Linked DNA regions of Homo sapiens: regions 1 and 2 are each linked to region 3. Evidence: promoter capture Hi-C in human tissues and cell types (Jung and others, 2019). All regions are on one chromosome and are shown on one strand. The core of a region is centred on a gene start or on the middle of the fragment in contact, and the rest is flanking DNA. Distances in the headings are between cores, read along the strand shown.

Region 1 (3,172 bases), core at 195-2,694, 250 kb before region 3:
CCTGCAGCCAAATTACTGAACCTAAACTTCTGGGATCCATGAACTGGGCTCTACATTGCTGCAAAGGAAACGGGCTCAAAGTATCAGTGCAGCTTAGCAAGTGACTGCCCCCTAAAAAGGTCACAGATCAAAAAGCTTCCCTGCGTATCAATGCTATTGTCACCAATAGCACTTCAACCAACCTTTCTGAAAACTGTAAAATGAACACCAAACAAGCCAACCACAGATGTACCAAACCACAGCAGACTGTTTTTACAGGCCTAAGTTGAGCTATCAATTGAATAGGCTCAGTTCTAAAATCAGACAGCAGCCTGTGCTGGGTGCCTAAGGGGATGTCACAAGACAGTAGGTCTGGAAAGGAGCACTCAGGCAGCCAAGGGTGAGAGCTGCACCCTGGAATCACACACGCCTTGGTGTGAATGCCTCCTCTACCTGTGGCCCCTTTGGCCTCTACAGCTGGGAGTCCTCATCTGTACAAGGCAAATAATAACACTATTACAAAACAAAGGCAGTCGCAAATAGCCACATGAGACTGATGGGATGCTCCACTGTGCACAAGCATCATGTGTTCTCAGAACAAGGCCCTGCACAGAGCACCAAGCATCTTCCTGTGACCACAGTCCACTAGCCCTTCAACTGTCAATGTGCACAGGAGTCGCCTGGGGGCCTTGCTAAATAAAATGCAGCTTCTGATTCAATAGCCTCGGATGGGACCAGAGATTTGGCGTCTTGATGAGCTCCCGAGTGAGATGGACAATGCCAGTCCACGGACTCACACTTTGAAATACAACACCTCGGTCATTGTGTCCAAATTTGCTTGATAACCTGAAGCACCCCCCACCCCCCCCCTTTTTTTTTGTGATGGAGTCTGGCTCTGTCGCCCAGGCTGGAGTGCAACGGCCACGATCTCAGCTCACTGCAACTGCCACCTCCGGAGTTCAAGTGATTCTCCTGCCTCAGCCTCCCAAGTAGCTGAGATTACAGGTGCATGCCACTGCACCAGGCTAATTTTTATATTTATAGTAGAGACGGAGTTTCACCATGTTGGCCAGGCTGGTCTTGAACTCCTGACCTTCAGTGATCCACCCACCTCAGCCTCCCAAAGTGCTGAGATTACAAGTGTGAACCACCTTGCCCAGCCTGGAGCACGTATTAAATATTCTAATTATCAGGCCTTTCTTCTGGAAATCTTGATTCAGTATGTTTCGGTTGGAGCCTTGGGCATTTGGGAAAACTAGAATGTATTCCTCTCCCTTTAGACAAAAGTCAACTATTGCTGAGGCATGGGTTTCATAAATGTTGACTAAAATATCCAGTTCAACAACCAATCCTGTATAATTTTCAAGTAACTTCTTTGTGAATAATAAGGAACAATTTATTTGTCATCGCACTGAGGAGCCGCGTGACCCCAGTCGTGCTGGATCAGAGATGAACACCAAGTGACTTCCTAACACCAGTGTCATCCTGAACGTCAACAGAAAACAGTGGCCACCGAGAAGATTTTTTAACTACTTGAAGCATTTTGCCAATGACCAGACTTCAAGAATCTTCCTTAATTTACAAAAAAAATTTAAAACCAATGGCAACAAAGGCACAGTACTTAACAAAGCAGCTAAGTTAGAAGTGCAAGACACTGATTTATATGCTGTTGATAGACCTGGAGAGACAGGACCATTTACTAGGCTGAAAAGGTGATGGCCATCTGGTATCTTCCTAAAAAAGTATATCAGGGTCCTAATCCTTTTCCAGAAGGCAAACTAAGGCCAGAGCAAGACAAGGTCTCCTAGGCCACACAACTAGTCAGTGACAGAGGAGCCAGTTCAGTCCTGTCCTTCAGGTCTGTGCCTACAAACCAATACTTGATCCGAGTATTCCAACCTGGGCAAAAACATCACAAAACACCCAACCCTGCATTTTAGGAAAAAAAAAAAAAAAAGGAAAAAGGAGGAAGGAAAAAAACAAAGGCAACTGAGAAGACAGGGCATGTCCAGTCTGGCCTCCCAGATAAACCTCAATGCGTTTGTTTCTTTTGGCGCAGCCACTTCCTTTGTAACTTGGAAGGAATGAAAGTCACATCACATTGCATTCTGTCTGCCCGTGTGAATTCAACCCCGTTAGGTGAGCCAAACTTAAACACATTAAATTCTACAAATAACCACTTCTGGAATTATTAAGATAGAAAACAATGGTGGGTACTAACAGATTCACTCAGGAGTGGGTAGTTAACGGGTTAATTCAGGTTATGTGTAGCTCTAGCTGGGAGAAGAAACAGGGCTTGGAGGAGGCAAGACTGTTCAGCATGAATTAGAACTGATTTATGAGCTTGCTGTAGCACTTGGAATAGAAAAACTCTTCAGCGCCTTTGATCCCTCTCACACTACACCAGGGTTCGATTGAGAAAACAACAGCGCTGACCACCCGTCCTTCTCGATCCTTGGGGAAAAAACTTTTTTGGACGGTAGAGTCAGATGAGGCCGCATTTTCCACCAGGGAACACTAACTGCTGCGGGAAGATCCCAGCTTCTGGCTAAAGCTGGGGCGGTAGGAGCTGCCGGCCAGCTCGCCATCTAGTCCCCAGAGCCCGGGCTTTAGGGCGCCCGGATGCAAACCAGTTTTGCCGCCAAGGAACCCGGACAGGCGCGCCTCCTCCCCGGCCTCGCAAGGAACAGGTTAAGGAGACATTTCCCACTTTCTCTGCCCGGCCCTGAACGCTCGCCGCCCCTGCCCAGCCGCCCACTGTCTGGCAGCCTGCAAGTCTCCATTCAGAAGCGGCTCCGTGCTGCCCAGCGATGGCGCCCTGGCGGCGCGGAAGCCCGCGGCCAAATGACACGACTTGGGGGCAAAGGAGGACAACAGTTCCCACCAGGTAGGCACTGGGGGAAGGAGGCCGATGACCCTGAGATTCTCCAGCGACCCCGGCGGGCCATCCCTGGGCGGCGCGCGGGTCCCGCGGCACGTGCGTGGCAGCTCTCGCCGCTTCCCTGGACGCCCGGGAAGGTCACGCCGCCTGGGCGCCGAGGCCCGCCCCGCGCCCCTCTCCCTCCGCCCGGGGCGCTCCGCAGCTGCCGAGGAGCGGAAGTGGGCGCCAGGCCGCGGCGCGCCCAGCCCAGCCCAGCCCAGCCCAGTCGGCGACCCCGCGCAGCGCTGCCTGCAGACCCTGGAGAAGGCGGAG
Region 2 (3,077 bases), core at 168-2,667, 140 kb after region 3:
AGAAATAGCTGTCATTTGTTCAATAGTTTAACATGTTATTTACTCACTTAACTACTGTATACTTATTTATTATTATTGTCTTATATTTCTCCTTGGTGTGATTACTGATTATAAACCATGTGCAATTTCTATTATAGTGTCTTTGCATTATTTGGTCCTTTTGCCTGTAATTTTCTTTCCACCGTCTCTCATTGCCCCCTCTCCGCAATACGCATACCTAGATCATGCCTACTTTTCCTTCATAGTTTGGCTCAGTCATCCCTGACTAGGCCATTTCTCTTTATTTTATGCTCTCACAATCCCATGTGGTGCTTATCTCAATCATCTTCACTGTGATCCGAGTCATTCTTTGATTAATGACTGTCTCCCTCACTAGACTGAAAGCTTCCTAAGTGTGGGACCCTGTCTGGTTTTGCCTTCTGTTTCATCTCCAGCATATTGCATCAAACATGGCACAAAGTTAGTGTTCAATTTTACCATGGAAAACCTTCCTCTATGATTTAATTTTTCTTGAATAAGTGTTCTATGACTTTGAATTTCTGGCAAATTTCTTTCTGAACGTGTCTGTCAAAAGTTGACTTCTGGGCTGGGTGAAGGACAAGGAGGGGAGAGTAAGATTGAGAAATCCATATTCGTGAGTTTTTTGAGAGATCCAGGTTATTTTATTAGTTTCTTAAAAAGATTAGTGTTTTCCAAAGTGGAGGTGCTTTCCATTGGATGTGGAAAAAAATGACAACTTTTATTTATAATGAGTTTATTTTAAACAAACACTTCATCTGTCATCATGAGTATTCAAATCTGTCTACACGAGTGTATTTTCTAGATAACTAACACTTTTCCATTTAGCAAAAAAAATTTTTTCATATGTATTATTTTAAACAAAATATTTCCAGTACACCCACAGGCCTATTTGCCTTCTTTGAAAGAACACACTGGCCTTAACCCATTTCCAGGTGGCTCTGCCATTGATATTAGAGAGTGAAATGTACTTATGATTGATTTTTATCAGGGTTGTACAATATATTGGTAGATAAATGAGTTAGATGTGAAGACCTTAATTTTTTGTAATGTAAGAAGTCAAATATTGAGTAAATGTTAAAATAACACATATAAGTGTAGAGTAAGAAGAATAACAATACAAAGAACTTATGTATATTAACAACCCTGTTTTAAAAACTGAATATTTTAATGATCTCTAAAACCCAGAAGTGTTGCTTCCTAATCCTTCTCTTTCCCTCGGCCCTTAGATACAACCATGATTGTGAATATTGTGTTCAGGATTGTCTTGCTTTTCTATGGCTTCAAAATATGTATTTGCAGCATAAATAATATAGTATTTAGTTTTGCATGCTTTTCATTGTTTACAAAAGGAGTCATCCTGTAAGCATTTGGCAACTTACTTTTTTTGGGCTCAAAATTACGTTCATGAGAGATTATTCCTTGTAAGTGAATAGGGCTATCATTCATTCAATTTCACTGATGTATAACATCCTATTCTGAGACTACCCCACATTTATTTATCTGTCCTTGTGGGTTGTTTCTAAGTTTTGCTCTTACAAATAGTACTGTTATGAACATGCTTTGTACATGTCCCCTGTACTAATGTGCAAGAGTTTATCTTGAGTATGAACCTAGGGTTGGAATTGCCGAGTCATAGGTTATATGCATCTTAGGCTAGAAAAAGCCATAATGTTCTCCAAAGTAATTGTACAAACTTATGCTCCCAGCAGCAGAGTTTAAACATTTTAGTTGTTCTACATCCTCTCTAGCACTTGATGTTGTCAAACTTTTAATTTTTGTCAATCTGGCATGTATGAAGCAGTATTTCGTTATAGTTTTAATTTGCATCTCCCTAATTACTAATGAGGCTGAGCATTTTCCCCACATATTTATAGGGTATTCAAATTATTGTTTCTGTGAAGTACCTGTTCAAATATTCTGTCCATTTTTGATTGACTTTTGTTGGCCTTTCATTGTGTGTTAATCTGTAGTTCTTTATAGTATATTTCATTGAATTTAGGAGAATACTTATTGTAAGAGATGCTGCTATTTTATTTACACTAAGAAAAAAACGCTAGCAATTAAATTGTGACAGTGTTGATTATAAGATGCATCTTAATTAGAGAGATGTTAAATATGAAAGAAAAGTGCATTTAATAGTGATGAAATATTATATATTGGAATAGTAATACTTTGCCAATTAAGTATATTTGAAAGTATAGTCTCTCAATTTGTATTTTGTTTCTTTACTTTCTTTATATTGTCTCTTGATGCAAACTCATTCTTAATATAGTCCAATTAAAAAAAATTTCAACTTTTATAGATTCATGGGTACATGTGCAGGTTTGTTACATGAGTATATTTTGTGATTCTGGGATTTGGGGTATGATTGATCCTGTCACCCAGGTACTGAGCAGAATACTCATATAGTCAAATTTTAAAATCTTTTTCTCTGTGTTTTTTACATATTGTGTTTTAAGAAGTCTTCTCTGCCTTGAGATAATAACAATATTTTTTTCAATATTTTCCTGTCTATGTTTTATGTGTTTGCCTCCCACATCTAAAATTTTAATTATCTGGAATTGATTTTGGATTATGGTATGAGGAAGCCTCCAGAGTAATATTAATAATTATTCCAGCATTAAAAAGTTCATCATTTCTCAACTGATCTACAATTATATCTCAGCCTTGAATTAAGTGTCCATATATATGCATGGGTCTGTTTCTGGGCTTTCAAATCTGTTTCATTGGGATATTTGTTTATTCCAGCATCATTACTATGCAGCTGAATGTTGATTTACCAGAAGCTAAAGAAGCTTAAACCTCAGTACCTCCTCACTTCAGCACCCCTGATTTGCATGAATCCTGAATCTAATATTTATAATTTTGTATTATTTTATGTAGAAGTGTGCCCAAACTACATAAACTTCAGGCCCTATATAATCAGATGCCACCCTTGCATGCAGTCTTAATGATTATAGTTTTATAATATTTTTTCATGTGTGTTACATCAGCTACCCCACTCCGTTCTTCTGGAATGTCTTGCCTACTCTTTGGCTTTTGCGTTTCCATATGCA
Region 3 (3,055 bases), core at 270-2,769:
AGCCGGAAGTGCTCGTGCCCATAGAGGGCGCAGCGCACTTGCCCGTTGGCGCCCGAGTCCCTGTCCGAGGTGCTGACCAGGGCCACCAGGCTCTCGCGCGCCGCCCCCTCCGGCACCAGCGAAGTGGCACCAGCCTCCGGCGTCCCGGCTCCCGCCGGCGAGCTAGCGTCCGCTCCCCCGAGTGCAGCGGCGGCGGCGGCAGCGGCGAAGGGTGAGGTTGCCGGCGCGCCTGGGGCGGCCAGCGGGGTGATGGCGATGTCGGGTGCGTTGTCATTGACGTCTCGGATGCGCACGATGACCTTGCAGGTGGCAGCGCGGGGCCCGGGTCCGCGGTCCTGCGCCCGCACGTCCAGCTCGTAGGTGTCCTGACGCTCGTAGTCCACGGGCCCGGCCAGGGTGAGGCGGCCTGATCGCGGGTCAAGCCGAAAGAGGCGGCGCGCCTCCGGCGGGGTGCGGGCGCCAAATGCGAACACCACGTCGCCGTTAGGTCCCTCGTCGGGGTCGGCTGCGTCCAGGTCGAGAAGCAGGGAGCCCACGGGCGCGTCTTCCGCCAGCTCCACTTCGGCCACGGCGCCCTGCGGGAAGGCCGGGCTGTGGTCATTCGCATCCAGGACGCGCACGCTGAGGGCAGCCGTGGCGGAGCGCGGCGGGCGGCCGCCGTCCTGGGCCACCAGCTCCAGGCTGTAGGCGGCCTGGCTCTCGCGGTCCAGCTCCTGCAGCAGCACCAGGTCTGCGCACTGAGCGCCGTCCGCTCGCGTCTGCAGCTCCACGCGAAAGGGGCTGTGCGGCTCGGCCAGGCGCACGGTCTGCAGCCCGTTGGCGCCCACGTCCTCGTCCACCGGCACCTCCAAGGGGATGCGCGTGCCCACTGCCGCACCCTCGGACACCTCTACCGGGATCTGGGCCCTGGGGAAGCGCGGCGCGTGGTCGTTGACGTCCCTCACCTCTACCTCCACGTGCACCAGCCGGAACTGCTCCTGCGAGAAGCTGACCACATCGAAGGCCAGCACGCACTGCGGGGCCTGGCCACACAGCCGCTCGCGGTCCAGGCCGGCGTCCCCGACGGTCAGCTGCCCGTCGCCTTCGCGCACCCGGAGCAGAGAGCTGTTGAATTGCTTCATCAGGCGGAAGCTTGTGTCACCCGATACTTTCATATGCAGGTCCTCGGCCAGGGTCCCGATGACCGTGCCGGGGGCATCCTCCTCGAAGGTGCTGTATCGGACTGTTTTGCTCTGGGCCACTGAGAGCACCCAGCAGAGGCTGAAGAGCTGCAAGGGGAAAAGGCAGGGGCTGCCCCAACGCCTCACAGGACTCATGCCTCCAGCCTCAAGTGCGATCCGAAAGGCTAAGGAAGTCTTCTCTGGTTTCCAGGTCGGGCGTCAGTCTCAGGCTCTCGGAATCACGCTCTTTGCGAGCCCTGTGCGGGAGAAGTCTGCGGGTAGCAGCTCCGAGCCTCCAGCGGGCTCTGAGGACGCGCGGACCCGCCCTCACTCTGCGCCTCTCCGTCTCTTACAGAAGCTGCGCCGCCTCGCGCCGCCTTTGCCTTTATAGCCGCCGATATGCTAATCACCCGAGCCGGGTAGCCAATGGCCGCCTCCCCCTCGCGTCGCCCCTCCGCCTGCCTCTGACAATCCCTTTAATGTGGAAAGGCTTAGAGGGGAAAACAAGAAAGGAAAATTAGGGAATCTTTCTTTTGTTTAACTCCTTTTGCTTTTTCCCCCTTTTCTTGTCAGCACCCTGCATGTAGAGGAGTTGGCACAGGGCTCCAGGAGTAAAAGGAGCGGATGGTTTTGTTAATTGTCGCCTGCCTCCCTCCGTGCCGCGGCTAGAACTAAGTGCGAACACGCTGGGGTTTCACCCCAGTGGCTCCTGATTCCGCCTTCCCCCAGCCCCTGCCAACACACACACTCTGCATTTTGCACCTCTGACGCTTCCAAACCCTTGCAGCCCCCTACCCACAGACTTGCTCTGCTGAATGAGGCTCTGCTTTCCTTCTCTCCTAGCTACGGTGCCTGGAATAGCCTCTCGATTAAGAAGCCTGAAGGATAAGGGAAAATTGATTTTATTCAAATTTGTGTACTCAATTGTGTTTTGCTCGTGTGAGCCCCAGTGATCAGAGCTGCCACTTCCCTTTCAGAAAAGAGCCCCGCGATATGTTAGTATGCACGTCACTGTCCAAGTGGCCTTCTTAAGCCCTGGGAGCTAGCAGGCAAGGAAAAAAAAGTTCCAAATAGGATTTAGCATAAGCTTGAGGAGATTTGGAAAGGTTTCAAAGATCAGACTGTATCAAAGGCTTATGAAGCCCTCGTTAGCAGTGGAAATAGAATGGTGTGGCAGGCGATCCCATTGGAGGCCCCAATGTCTGTATTATTTCACTGTGACAAGCTAAGGGGAGAGAAAGTTGAACAGTTTCCACAGCGGAGTTGGACTAACTTGAATATAATGAGCAAACGCCACATGTATCCATTATGTTCCTCTATTCATCCCCAATCACTGCCATAACTCTCCGGCTAAACGGTGATGGGCGCTGAATTCCACACAATACCCGGCTCGTATTAAAGTGCATTTAGAGAACTTTTTCCTCCTGATGCCTTGTTCCGCCTATTTAGAGGATTTTCTTTCTGTTCTAATAGGGCCACTCTGGGAAGCAACACTCGTCCGGTTCCAGAAGAACAAAATCACAGCGTGACGTTGAAACCTGGCAGGAACGTGGGGGGAACTTAACCATCTGCTTAGGAAAGTGTGGAGCTTCGGCACTGCCAAAATCTGGGCTGGGCGGATCCTGGGGCTGGCCGGGCGCTGCGCTGCCCCACAGATAGCCCCCTCCCATCCCTGACGGCCAGGGAGATGGAGCTCGGATCTGCAACAAGACGGATTCTTAATGATTCTTACTGAAGGGCTTTATTGAGCAGGCTATGCAAATACACACGAAGGAGGAAAGGTAAAAAACAAAAGCCACTCACTGGAAGAAATTTTTCTTTTTAGGCGATAGGTTTGGTAAGTAGATTGAATTCAGTAAACATTCTTCAGAATCCCGATTTTGGTCCTGCTGTCA

What was found. Contacts are between HindIII fragments. The study calls those that stand out against the background at their distance.
Region 1: a contact is called between a fragment that was not itself captured here and the fragment with the promoter of PCDH8 in region 3, in 1 of the 25 tissues and cell types used here (lymphoblastoid cells).
Region 2: a fragment that was not itself captured here is called in contact with the fragment with the promoter of PCDH8 in region 3 in 1 of the 25 tissues and cell types used here (H1 embryonic stem cells).

The regions. Positions count from the first base shown.
Region 1 is chr13:52,597,355-52,600,526 of GRCh38, forward strand. It overlaps LINC00345 (long intergenic non-protein coding RNA 345), which reads right to left and starts at 3,009. Exons shown (of 3, transcript NR_184203.1): 1 at 2,864-3,009. The HindIII fragment of the contact is 4,159 bases long and covers 1-3,172 here.
Region 2 is chr13:52,984,761-52,987,837 of GRCh38, forward strand. No RefSeq gene overlaps it. Among named protein-coding and RNA genes, the nearest start is that of OLFM4, 43 kb to the right of the region's middle. The HindIII fragment of the contact is 5,602 bases long and covers 1-3,077 here.
Region 3 is chr13:52,847,121-52,850,175 of GRCh38, forward strand. PCDH8 (protocadherin 8) reads right to left here and starts at 1,520. Exons shown (of 3, transcript NM_002590.4): 1 at 1-1,520. The coding sequence starts at 1,316. RefSeq lists enhancers at 1-593, 594-1,483, 1,614-1,908. The HindIII fragment of the contact is 11,047 bases long and covers 1-3,055 here.